Linked DNA regions of Homo sapiens: region 2 is linked to region 1. The links are contacts of gene promoters, found by promoter capture Hi-C in human tissues and cell types (Jung and others, 2019). All regions are on one chromosome and are shown on one strand. Each heading gives the region's core, a stretch centred on a gene start or on the middle of the fragment in contact. The rest is flanking DNA. Distances are from core to core; before and after follow the strand shown. Region 1 holds the start of NF1 (neurofibromin 1). Region 2 holds the start of RHBDL3 (rhomboid like 3).

Region 1 (6,103 bases), core at 62-2,561:
CTCCAGGACCACATCCCAGCTGGCTTTGCTCTGTTGTCGGTGGCTCTGAAGCAGTTTCTCACTTTCCTTTCACCCTTCTCCCCTTTACTCCCCAACATTCTCACTCGAGAATGCATCACATCCTCAGACCGCTGGCAAAAAAAAAAGGGGGGGGGGAAGAGACTGCAATTATCAAGGAAGGGGAAGATATTTCAGAACCACGGTTTCCACTGCAAACGGCAATAAAAAAAAAAGGCAGTCTGTGTCATCAGGATATGGGGGACGACGTTGTAGGGCATCACAAAGATGTGCAGTGAGTGTGCACTTGAAGCTCTCGGGGCAGGATGAGACGATGGAGCAGAAAGTAAGAAAACCTGTGCCTTCCTTGCTTTCTTCTGCTCTTCCCCCTCCAGGAGAGGAAGCTGAAGAAACTGGGGGAGGGGCGGAATGTTATCGTTCTCCTATTGAGGGTATATAAGACAGGCCTTAGGGTTCGCTCGTCCCCAGTTAGGAGGGTCACGGAGGGAAGAGGAAGAGAGAACCCCTAAACGTTACCCACCTCTGCTCAAAAACAAAAGTAAGGGGGTAATTATTAAATCCAGATGGCGCGCCCCTAAAGGCGCCCCCAGGTCACTCATCCCCATTTCCAAGCGGAAGGGCTGGGATAAAGGGGATGGAGGGTCGGAGGCTGGTCAGGGACAAGGCCCCACCCCCCGACTTAGGAGGGAAAGGGTGCCCAAGCTCCCAGCTGTCCCCTCCTACCCCTCACCTCCCGCCTTGGCCACCCCCACTTATCCCCCCTTCCCTTCTCTTCCCTTCCCTTCCTTTCCTCCAGAGCCTGAGGCAGCCGCGGGGGAGGCGGCCGCTCCTACCTCCCCTCACCTACTCTGTCCCCACCCCCACTCCGCTCCCACCTCCCGCCCGCCACGGGCCGGTTACCTGCTCGTCGAAGCGGCTGACCACGGCCTGGACCCATTCCACCGGCCTGTGCGCGGCCATGTCCTCCCCGCGGCCGGGGGGCGGCGGAGGGAAGGGTGGGCCGGCGCCCTGGGCCGGGAAGAGGGCGGGGAGCGGAGGCTGAGGTGAGGGAAGAGGCAAGGAGAGGGTCTGTGGAGTGCAGGCTCCCAGTGTTCCCACGGGGGTGGGGATGGGGGGTCAGCGCCGAGCGGGAGGGGGAGAGGGAAAGGGGGCGTTGGCAAGGAGGCTGGGGGGAGGGGGATAGGGGAAGGGGACCCGGGGAGGGGAGGGGGCCTCTTGGTCGCTCTCCCCACTAGCGCCGTCTCCCCACAGCCATCACAGTCCGAGACGCCGCCATGACACCCCACCGGAAGTGGGATCCTTTCCACGGCCCGGGGAGAGGGAGCGCGAGCGAGCTAGAGATTGAGAGCGCGGCTGGGAAAGGGGAGGGGGAAGCGAGAGGGAAGGCGGCCTGCCGCGCATGCGCCCGCGCCGGCCGGTTTCATTAATGAAAAAGCGAGTCCTCCTGGAGGTGACGTCATCTAACTCCTCTGGGCCGTCTGGCGAGCGTCCCTCACCGCCGTGGGGCTCACCTAGACTGGCGCTGGGCTCAGCTGGCGAGTGCCAGAGCTGACCCGGGAGCATCCACTCCCATCCCCACCGCCCCCTACAGCTGTCCCCTCCCCCGCCGGCCTCCGGGTTTGGATTGCTCCCGGAGTTGGAAGTTAGGGCGCCCTGGGGCTAGCCTTTCTCCCAGCGCGCGGATCTCTGCCGCTAATCTCCTGGGGAGGCTGTGCTCTCAGCTTAAGCTCTCAGAAAAAATAAGGTACACGACCTCCGATTTTCAGGTTCTTCGTAGCTTGGTAGACTGCTGAGAAACAAAAAAGGAAGGCCAAAGAGAGATTCCGTGATTTTTTTTTTTTAGAGGTCGCTTAAATCCCAATGCTAGACCCGGTGGCAATCAAGGTCTAGCCACCAGGTCTAGCATTGGGATTTAAGCCCAGCTTTCCTCTGCAAAACTCATAGCCATCCAAGTTAATATAACTATTGCACAGTTGATGAGAGATTCAAGTTTCACCACCCTCAAAACACCTTTAAGGCCTTGCATTCATTATTAATTCAATATATTCATCGTCTTATTTAAATCCTTGAACAAACCTTTTCAATACATATCATTAACTTCATGAACTGATGAATACGTCACGTCCCCACCCCCGTGGGAACGCTGGGAGCCTGCACTCCTCCCTCAGACCTTTGATTTGCCCAAGGTCTGAGTTGACAGGTGGCAAAGTCAGGATGTAAACCAACGTGGTTTAACTCCTAGAACAATAGAGGTAGACTATGGGTCTCCTAAAACAAAGTCCTTCCCTATACCTCCAATACCAGAGTTGAAAGGATTTCATGTGTAATTGGGTTGTGCCAGTTTTCCAGGAAGAGGATTACATCCAAAACAACGGATAATCTATGTCTGACATTGGACTTTGGAATGACTAATTTTTTTTTTTTTTTTTTAAGACAGAGTCTCACCCTGTCACCCAGGCTGGAGTGCAGAGGCGCGATCTCGGCTCACTGCAACCTCCGCCTCCCGGTTGAAGTGATTCTTCTGCCTCAGCCTCCCGAGTAGCTGGGACTACAGGCATGCGCCACCACAGCCGGCTAATTTTTGTATTTTTAGTAGAGACGGTGTTTCACCATATTGGCCAGGCTGGTCTTGAACTCCTGACCTCATGATCCGCCCACCTCAGCCTCCCAAAGTACTGGGATTACAGGTGTGAGCCACCGCACCTGGCCTGGAATGAGTAATTTTAAAATTTGTCTTCCTCGATACATTTTACCTAGGCAAATGTTTTTGTTTTTCAGAGACAAGGTCTGACTCTGTGCAGTGGAGTGCAGTGGCTCAATCATAGCTCACTCCAGCCTCAGACTCCTGGGCCGAAGTGATCCTCCCACCTCAAGCTCCTGAATAGCTGGGACTACAGGTGAGTGTCACCCTGCTTTGGCTAATTTTTTTTTTTTTTTTTTTTTTGGTAGAGACACAGTCTTGCTATGTTGCCCAGGCTGGTCTGGAACTCCTGGCCTCAAGTGATCCCCCTGCCTTGGCCTCCCAAAGTGCTGGGATGACAGGGGTGAGCTACCACACAGGCCCCTAGGCCAATGTTAAAATGAATTTACACATTCCAAGCACGCGCTAATCAGCCAGTTAAGCCACACAGACACTGGGTGATAAGGGAGAACAAAACTAGAATTTTAATTTTCCTACAGAAAAGCCACAAAGCCAGTAGCCCACATACAGAGAGATATATCCTTGAGAAAAGTTTCCAATCTCTAGGTTGGTGGTTGTCCAAAATACATATTAAATTAATGTTTTATTCCACTAGAACAGACAGACAGTTTGGACATGTCTTTTGTCCCTTCTTCTTTAAGGATGCAATGCAGATACTAATTTCTTTTAGATGATGTCAGAATGATGACTATGCTGGAAAGAAATGGATGAATATTAAATGAATGTCTATCTATGTTTCTCCCAAGTAGGACCCCTGAAAAAGCACTCACTCATACCCCCAAGATAGTATTCCAGTGCCCCCTACTGCACTGCTAAACTTCAGACCTATGACCTTCCTCTCCTTTTCTCATACTTCCTCTGAAAGTCCCTAACTACTTCCTTGTTGCCATGGCTTTTTGCCTGTCTATCTCCCTGATCTTCTTCCCTACACTGGATGCAACTGCCCAAACCCTCAGCTCCCTTGCCTTCCCTGGCATTCCGTTGCTGAAGTTCCTCTGTGCCTTTCTCTCCTCTTCTTCTCTAGTTTAGTCTACCATTGCCCACTCTTCTTTAGCTCTGTGGTAAGACACCCAAACTTCAGGCCCTGGCCCTCTGCTCTTCTTCCTTTACTCAAGCTCCTGCCAGCATGTCATTAATTCATCCTAATTTGTACTCCCTGTTCTGTTGCCTCCCCTCAGTGCCAAACCTCTCATTATAGTCAGAGGCCTAGACTTCACCCCAACTTCCTCTCCAATTAAATTCATTCAGTTCTGCTGAACCAGTATTAAGTGTCCAAATGGGCCGGTCGTGGTGGCTCACACCTATAATGCCAGCACTTTTAGAGGCCGAGGTGGGAGGATTGCTTGAGCCTAGAAGTTCAGACCAGCCTGGGCAACATAGTGAGATCCCAGCTTCTACCAAAAAAAATTATTTAAATTAGTTAGGCATAGTGGTGTGCATCTGTGGTCCCAGCAACTTGGGAGGCTGAGGTGGGAGGATCACTTGAGCTAGAGAGGTCAAGGCTGCAGTGAGCTGTGATCTCGCCACTGCACTCCAGCCTAGGCAACAGAGCAAGACCCTGTCTCTAAAAAATAAATAAAAATAAAAGTACCCAAATGCCTGTTATGTATTATGTACTTTGTTAGACCATACATAGTACATATGGCAGGAATGCTAAACAAAAGTGCCAAAGAAGACTGGACGCTGTGGCTCATGCCTGTAATCCCAGCACTTTGGGAGGCCGAGGCAGGCAGATCACCTGAGGTCAGGAGTTTGAGACCAGCCTGGCCAATGTGGTGAAACTCCATCTCTACTAAAAAAAAAAAAAAAAAAAAAAAAAAGCCGGGCATGGTGGCACATGGCTGTAATCCCAACTACTTACTAGGGTGACTGAGGCAGGAGAATTGCTTGAACCCAGGAGGCTGAGGTTTCAGTGAGCCTAGATTGTGCTGCTGCAATCCAGCCTGGGCGACAGAGTGACTCCATCTCAAAAAAAAAATGCCAAAGAAGGTAATGCATAGAGACTGTGGTGAATTAAGAAGCATATACCCACCTCCATTTATCCAGATAAGAGATACTCTCTCCATTTAAAGAGTATCTGTCACTCAACTCCAGTTACTGCCATGCAGGAATGTTGACCCAGTGTTGCTAGATCTTCTAGTTACTCAAGAGAAGCTAGAGATCTGAACTTACATATAAACTCTTCCAATTTTTACATAGTGGCAGCCAATTTACATTTTTTAAATGCTGTGTAGCCAAACAAAATACGTCTGCTGTCTGAATGTAGCCCATGGAACACCAGTTTGACCAGCACTAGTCTAGTGAAAAGGCATGAGCCTTACAGTAGAACAGAATTAGATTTGTATCCTAACTTCCCCCATTTTGCACTGTCCAACAGTATTCAGGGAACCCTTAGTGTTTCGTATTGTTTTAAATGCATCTCTCTCATTCAGCCTCTGTTTTTTGGTCAGGCAACAAGCTCTGCCAATTTTTTCTTCGAAGAGTTTTGTTCCAAGCTGGGAGCCGTGGCTCATGCCTGTCATCCCAGCACTTTGGGAGGCCAAGGTGGGTGGATCACTTGAGCCCAGGAGTTCCAGACCACCCTGGGCAACATGGCGAAACCTCATCTCTACAAAATTTTTTTTTTTAATTAGCTGGGCATGGTGGCATGTGCCTGTGGTTCCAGTTACTTGGGAAGCTGAAGTGGGAGGATCGCTTGAGCCCAGGAGGTCAAGGCTACAGTGAGCTGTGATGGTGTCATTGCATTCCAGCACTCCAGCCCGGGCATCAGAGTTAGACCTTGTCTTAAAAAATAAATAAATGAATAAATATAAATAAAAAATAAAAAGCTTTTACAGTAGTATTCCCTTCATTCTGCCCACCACCCCCATCTCCACTGGCACAACCAACCATCCCAGCATACCAAAGAGCACACCACTCTTCAGGACTAAGGTGCTCATTTCCTCAGCTGCTGGGCGCATTACTTGTCAACACCTATCAGCTAAATCCCTTTCCAGGAGTTGCCTTCAGCTGAAGAAAGCTGCCTCTCACCAGGTCCGTCTGCACTGACTGGCAGATGCAGGGCTCAGGGTGGGGCTGCTCTGAAGGGCTCTCCTGGCACCAGAGCTCCCTTAGGATCCGGAAGCTGAGGCATTTGCTGTAACTACATTTAGTTCAACTTTTTCTGCTCAATCCTACTCCTTTCCTGCACGGTGTTGATTCCAAGGGCAATTAAATCCATGAGTGTGGCCGGACACCATGGCTCAGACCTGTAATCCCAGCACTTTAGGAGCTGAGGCAGGTGGATCGCGTGAGCCCAAGAGTTCAAGACCAGCCTGACCAACATGGTAAAATCGTATCTTTACAAAAAATAAAAAAATTTGCTGGACATGGCGGTGAGCAGCT
Region 2 (6,207 bases), core at 3,163-5,662, 1.2 Mb before region 1:
CCAGAGTCACTTGTGCTTACAGGGACTCTGAGAGGTGTCATGTCCCATCCATGACTGCAGTTTGATCTATCAGGGTTGCTTGCTTCTTTTTTTTTTTTTTTTTTTTTTTTTGAGAAAGGGTCTCACTTTTTGGGAGGCCATCCTCCTGTCTCAGCCTCCCAAAATGCTGGGATTACCGGCGTTAGCCACTGTGCCTGGCCTAATTTCTTTCCTAGAATTAATTCTGGGCAGGCCTCCCAGAAGCAGGGGTATGCTCTTTGTGACACCCAGGACCCAGGACCTACCTTCAGTTGGAAAAATTCGATTTAATAGACCACTAGCTACTATTAGGTGCTACACATTCTTTCTGCTCCCTTGAGTTCCAAAATCTTCCTACTAAAAGCTCTCTTCCTTTCACCCAAATGGTTTGTTTTAAAATGTACACATACACACAGGGACTGGCAAAGGAAATTAATCAAATGAAAAAGATAGACACAGACAGAGAAAAAAAAAGAATGATACACTTTGTTCTAGGTTCTGATTCTAAATCTGGCAGGAGGTGTGAAGGGCTGGCAGCTTGGTGGTAGTGGTGGCAGTGGCGCAGCGGGCTCCCTCCTGCCTTGGGGCATCAGGCCAGCAGCTGCTGTACTCTTAGGAGCCAGAGGGAGAGATGCTCTACCCGTCAGGACAGGAGCCAGTGCATGCTTTGAACTTCAAACCACAGCCAGACCTCGTGGTTAATGTGGATGATCACCCCAAATCCTCACCCCAGGCCTTTCGCGCTGCAATTCCGTGTCATCACGCCCACTCCGGCATCTGCAACCGGCTGGCTCCTCTAACTGAACTTGTCTCAAACCAAAGTTGTCATTTTTGCCAAACGTCTCTCCTCACTCCAACTTGTTTTTTGTTTTTGTTTTGAGACAGGGTCCCACTCTGTCACTCAGGTTGGAGTGCAGTAGCACGATCGTGGCTCACTGCAGCCTCAACTTCCTGGGCTCAGGCAATCCTCCTGCCTCAGTCTCTCATGTAGCTGGAACCACAGGAGTGTGCTACCATGCCTGGCTGATTTTTTAATTTTTTGTAGAGATGAGGTCTCACTTTGTTGGCGAGGCTGGTCTTGAACTACTGGGTTCAAGTGATCCTCCCGCCTTAGCCTCCCAAAGTGTTGGGATTACAAGCGTGAGTCACCACACCTGGCCCCACTCCAACTTCTTTCCCTCCTAGGTTCAGAATCTCAAAGTTAGATATGTGGTTCCCCTCACCTACGGTCTATTAAGATCTTCCAATTCTTCCATCACCATGTCCCTCTTCCCGTCCATCCTCACTGTCACCTTCTTGCCTCTGTTCAGTGCTGCAGCTCCTGCCTAGCTTCCCTCATCCCCGTAGCCCATTCACTCCTTATCCCCTAAGACACTGGAGCTTTCCCAAGCCTGGCTTGGATCACATAACAACCCTGCTAAAAAACTTTCTAAGGCTTCCCCTGCCTACAACGAAGTCCTGGTTCAAGCTAATTTTTCAGCTTTATCTCCTTCTCCTACCCAACACATTCCCTCTGGCCCACTCACACCAATTTCTTAAAGTTGCACAAACTTCATGGCACAATCATTCTCACCCCAGGACTATAGCACTCAACTATCCTCCAACATGGGGCAAAGAGGGAGAAGGAAGCACATAACAGCACCCACCACGAATGCTAAGAGGAGAACCATTTCCTTGCTGAAGGTCAAATGTCCATCTCCAGGTTCAAAAGCCAATACTTGGCACCCCCAACTCCATGCCCTACACCTGGACTCCAGGCATTGCGAAGAATCACACACAATTTCCCCTCTGTAACCTCCCAGCACTCCCTCATCCCTATGACAGAATTAAAGACATTGAATTAGACTTCAAAAGAGTCCATACTGTGAGTCAGCCCCCAAGGATGGCAGAGATTTGACTTCAGCGGTGGCCATGGACCCTCCATAGTGGAGGTAGAAACGGAGAGGGATTGTCAGCCCAAGCCCTTCCCCCACCTCTCCAGCCCCCTACTGCAATCCCCTGGCATATGGAGGATTTCCCAGGCATTCAATATATAACGTCCAATTTCTACATGGTGTAAACCCGGCTCTGGTGCAGCAGAGTAGGGAGGAGGCAGGAGGGAGATCCTCTCAGGGGAGCCCATCTCTTCCTCCTGATACCTGGAGAGCAGTGTCGTTCAGCCCTAGAGATGCACAAAGCCACACCCCCACCCCACGTCACCATCTCAGGAGCGCGGAGCTAGGGAAGCCCACGCAAGCAGGGAGACTGAGACCGATTTCAGGGAGGGCTGGAAGGAAATGGGGGGTTAACTGCTCACATACCTGATCAAACAGGACTTTCCAGTGCTGGCAGAGAGGGAGGCCATGCAGGAGAGGAAGAAGAGGAGAGAAAGAAAGACACACTTATCACCAAGGTCTCTGTAGTCCTCGGATGTTTCTGACATAGCCTCCCAGCGGCTGCCCAGGAGTCATGACCAGGCTCAGGGACTGGCCACAGGAGAGCAGGGGAAGTCTGGGAGGAGCTCCCCAATGAGTCCACACTGAGCAGAGGGAGGAAACTCACAGTAAGGGATGGGGTGGGGGCGGGGGCGGCAAGGTGGGTGTTGCTGGTTCTGGAACTGGCAGAACAAGTGATTCTCAACAATTACTAAATAAAGGCGTCCAAATATGTCCAAGCGCCTCTAATAATTTCTGCTGCCTAAAGCTTATGTCCACAGCTACTCCCAGGCCTGGGAGAGCATGGCCAGGTGCAATTCCATCAGACCCCGGCGCAATGAGTCTCACCTGCTGGGAGCTAGAGCCCCCCCCTCCCCCCCCAGGAGAACTCACCTCTGCATAAACACTAACATTTTGCCTGCAGTTTTTTGTTTGTTTGTTCGTTTTTTGTTTTTTTGCGGGGAAGGGGGGGTGGTGAATGCCGAATGCGGTGAAGCCCACCCATTCTCTTCCAAGGCTGAGTCTAAGTGGTGACTACATCAGATTCTGCCAGGGGTTTAGGGCCAGAAGGAAGTGATAGATTTAACCGCAGACGCCAAAGAGAGAAGATCGTAAACTACCCCCCAACCCCATTCAGACTTTCCCGCTTTCGTTGTGTGGGTTGGGGGCCTGGTTTCACTTCCATCTCCCCACCCTGAGGGAGGAGTGGGCAGGGCAGGGTGTCTGCCCGGTTTTTCACCCCTATGTGTAGGTTAGCCCCGGGAGGTTAACCCAAGAAACTCCAGTTCCCAGGGCTTCGCAGGGCCGGCCCGCAGGACCGGAGGGATGGAGACCCGAGCAGCAGACGGCGGGGAAGCCCTCGGGGCAGCCCCTCCCTCTCCTCGCCCAGGGGACCGTCCCCTGGCACCGCCACGGTCTTGGACTCCCGGGCCTCCTTCTAGGAGCAAAGCCGCTCCCAGCACTCTTTGCCTCCCTGCTCCGGCCGGGGTCAGAGGCGGGGGCCGGCTTGAATTTCAATCAGTGTCGCGGCAAGGCAGGTGCCGGGCGGGAGCTAATCCGGGAGCGGAGGAAGGGGTCGCCAGGCCGGCTTGCATGGCCAGGGACGGGGACTCTGCGGCGTCCGCTCCTTCCCCAGCTCCGGGAGCTCGCAGGTCGCGGGCGTGAGGGGAGGGGGAGTCACCGCCGTGACGCGGCCGCCTCTGCGGGAAAACGCCGTGTCCCGGGCACTGCACCAGCGGCGGGGAGGGGGCTCCGGCGGTGACAGGTCCGCGGCGCAGTGGCGGTGCTGTGTCCCGCAGGGAAGCCGCGGGAACCAGAGCGGGGGAAGCGGTGCGCGCGCGTTTCGGGGAGACCGGTCCCTCCGCCCCCTCCTGCCCGCGGGGACCCGGCCAATCCGGGGCGCTCCCGCGTCACCCTGAAACCTCCAAGTTGCCCGGCGTGGGGCGAGACAGGGGCGGCTTTTCCCCCCGGCGCCCCCTAGAAAGTTTGCCGGGCGGGGAGGGGGCACTCACGTCCTCCGGCGCCGCGGGCAGCCGCTCCTCGGCCTCGGGTTCCAGCTCCTCGATGCGCTCCGCCTCGGCGCAGGCGGCCACCGCGGGGCCCGGGCTGGGGTGCTCGCCCATGGCCGAGACGGGGTCCGGGGGCGGCGGCGGCTGCGGGGCTCGTCCCGGGGCGCCGGGCTAACTTTGCGCCGCGGCGGCCGCGCCGCTCCAGGGGCTCAGTGCGCGCCGCGCCGCCTCCGCGCCCGCTCCGCAGCCCGCGCCCGCCCCCATGGCCCCGGTCCCCGCGCCGCCGCCGCCTCCTCGCGACCCCGGGACGCCCGGCCCCTCCGCCGCCAAACTTCACTGCGCTAGCTGCCCCGCCGGCCTCCGCCTCCGCCCCGGCCCTCGCGCCCGGCTCCGAGGCGAGGGCGCCCTTGGGCCGGCCCCGGCCCCGCCGCTCCCCGCGCTCCCTTCCCGCTTCTCGCGGCCCCCGCTCTGCGCCCGAGTCTCCTCCTCCCCGCGGAGTCCTCGGGGGCGGCGCGCGGGCGGGGGCGGGGCTGCTCGCGGGGAACGCCGGCCCCCGCCCCGCACCCCACCCCGGGCGCCGCCACCCGGGCCCAGTCGGTCAGAGCGGCGCGGCCCGGGAGCGGGAGGGCTGCGGCGGGGCTGGCGAGGAAGTGGTGGCGCTGCCCGGGGCGGGGATGGGGACTGCGCCGTCCCCGGCCCGGTCACCACCGGCCTGCACTCCGGGCCCGGGCTTGGCTCTTCCATCGGCTTAACCATCACTTGGAGGTGGCAGATATGTGATGGAGACACTATGTTGGCGACGTCAGGGTTAACTAGGAGTGAATTGGGGGCGCGATGTTGTAAGGACGGGATTCCTGCCTCCCGCCCCATTATCCTTACGCCCTATTCACTGCGGTCTCAGATTCTGGGAGGTCTCGGGAGGCCCAGAAATGGGAGAAGTCAGATTGCGGGGTCGTGGGCCCCAAAGCCTAAATCTTGCCCTTCCTACACCCAGAGCTAAGTGACCATGCCCAGGCTTCATTTGACCACATGGACAAAGGTAAGCCCAGGGAAATGCCCCATCTGGGGAGAGGGACGGTAAAGAAACTAAAGCAATCAGAAAGGAAGTTAGCCAAAACGGAGTAGGGGATCTTTTAAAGAAAACAATCGATGCTGTTTCCCTGCAGGAAAGCGCCCCCAAGAGAGACCATCTCCCGAAGCAGAGGCTCTGGCTGTAAATGGTGCTAGTGGCCGGCCTGGCAGGGGCCAGCTCTCCCCAGAGGCTCAGGAGCTTCTCCAGGAGGCATCTCGCAGTCAGTCCCCAGCCCACACCAAGGCTGTGCCCTTCCACTCCTCTTGCTTTCCTCTTCCCACCACCCACTCACTCACTAGTCTTTGCCCTCTTCCTTCCTCTGGGAAACGGAACAGGCTCCTTTCCATTAGTGAGAGCTGCAACTAATGCAGTCATCTTCAGAAAGCAAAGACATAACCCCGTGCCCAGGATCCGAACTGCGACCATCACCCAGCAATGACTGCTCCCCTTAAACACCGAGAAGGGAATTCACTTGATTCTAATTAGGTGAGTTTGCTACAGACACCAATTTTCATCTCTGTTTCAGAAAGTGTGATCATTTCAACTATTTTTGTTTCTCACCACCCTCCTCCCCATCCCTACTCTACTAACAAGTCAAGATCCTGCCAAGATTTCCTTGTAAATAAAACTGTCTGCATGGGGTGTGATTTTGAAAACAGCCTTCAGGGGACAGAAGAGAGGCTGATTCCTTTGTGAAGAGGAGCCCAGAAGGACAAATGACCGCTGGGGCCCTGGGGTCTGTGTCGCTGCCTCCCGCATCCCAGGCTGTCATTTGCATGACCGGTATGGGTGTTGGCTCTGTTATACTTAGATCTCTGGGACTAGAGAAGTGGGCCAGGAAGTCTGGTTCCAGGGGAACTGGAAGGAGAAGGGCACAGAAAAGGGTTGGCCACTCTGCTGGGATGCCCAGCCACCCTGGACAGTGTTCTGATACCAGCTACCCAGGGAGCTGCCTCTTCATCAGCCCAGGGACAGCTCTTATCAACATATCCAACTCTGTCATCCCTTCGTGGGGAAGGGAGCTTAGCAGGCTCAGTTCTGTTCCTGAACATGTATTAAGCTCCTACTAAGTACCAATGACAGAGCTTTGAGAATACAGAGGTGGATAAGAACCAGACCCTGCCCTCCAGAAATGGATAATTGGGGGTGACAGTCACATTCAACACAAGGGTAAGTCCTGGATTCAAGGGAAGCC

What was found. Contacts are between HindIII fragments. The study calls those that stand out against the background at their distance.
Region 2: the fragment with the promoter of RHBDL3 here is called in contact with the fragment with the promoter of NF1 in region 1 in 1 of the 25 tissues and cell types used here (pancreas).

What each region holds. Positions count from the first base shown.
Region 1 is chr17:31,090,185-31,096,287 of GRCh38, reverse strand. It overlaps NF1 (neurofibromin 1), which reads right to left and starts at 1,311. Exons shown (of 58, transcript NM_001042492.3): 1 at 919-1,311. The coding sequence starts at 978. MIR4733HG (MIR4733 host gene) reads left to right here and starts at 798. Exons shown (of 4, transcript NR_186435.1): 1 at 798-1,061; 2 at 2,797-2,915; 3 at 5,170-5,263; 4 at 5,353-5,546. It overlaps MIR4733 (microRNA 4733), which reads left to right and starts at 1,863; the gene lies at 1,863-1,938. It overlaps LOC124903974 (a long non-coding RNA gene), which reads right to left and starts at 4,653. Exons shown (of 2, transcript XR_007065704.1): 1 at 4,581-4,653; 2 at 3,161-3,412. RefSeq lists silencers at 907-956, 997-1,066, cis regulatory regions at 922-1,232, 1,459-1,698, an enhancer at 1,301-1,318 and a promoter at 1,306-1,731. The HindIII fragment of the contact is 9,958 bases long and covers 1-6,103 here.
Region 2 is chr17:32,264,037-32,270,243 of GRCh38, reverse strand. It overlaps RHBDL3 (rhomboid like 3), which reads right to left and starts at 4,412. Exons shown (of 9, transcript NM_138328.3): 1 at 3,944-4,412; 2 at 2,319-2,342. The coding sequence starts at 4,054. LOC105371731 (a long non-coding RNA gene) reads left to right here and starts at 4,793. Exons shown (of 3, transcript XR_934665.2): 1 at 4,793-4,979; 2 at 5,348-5,498. The HindIII fragment of the contact is 17,639 bases long and covers 1,178-6,207 here.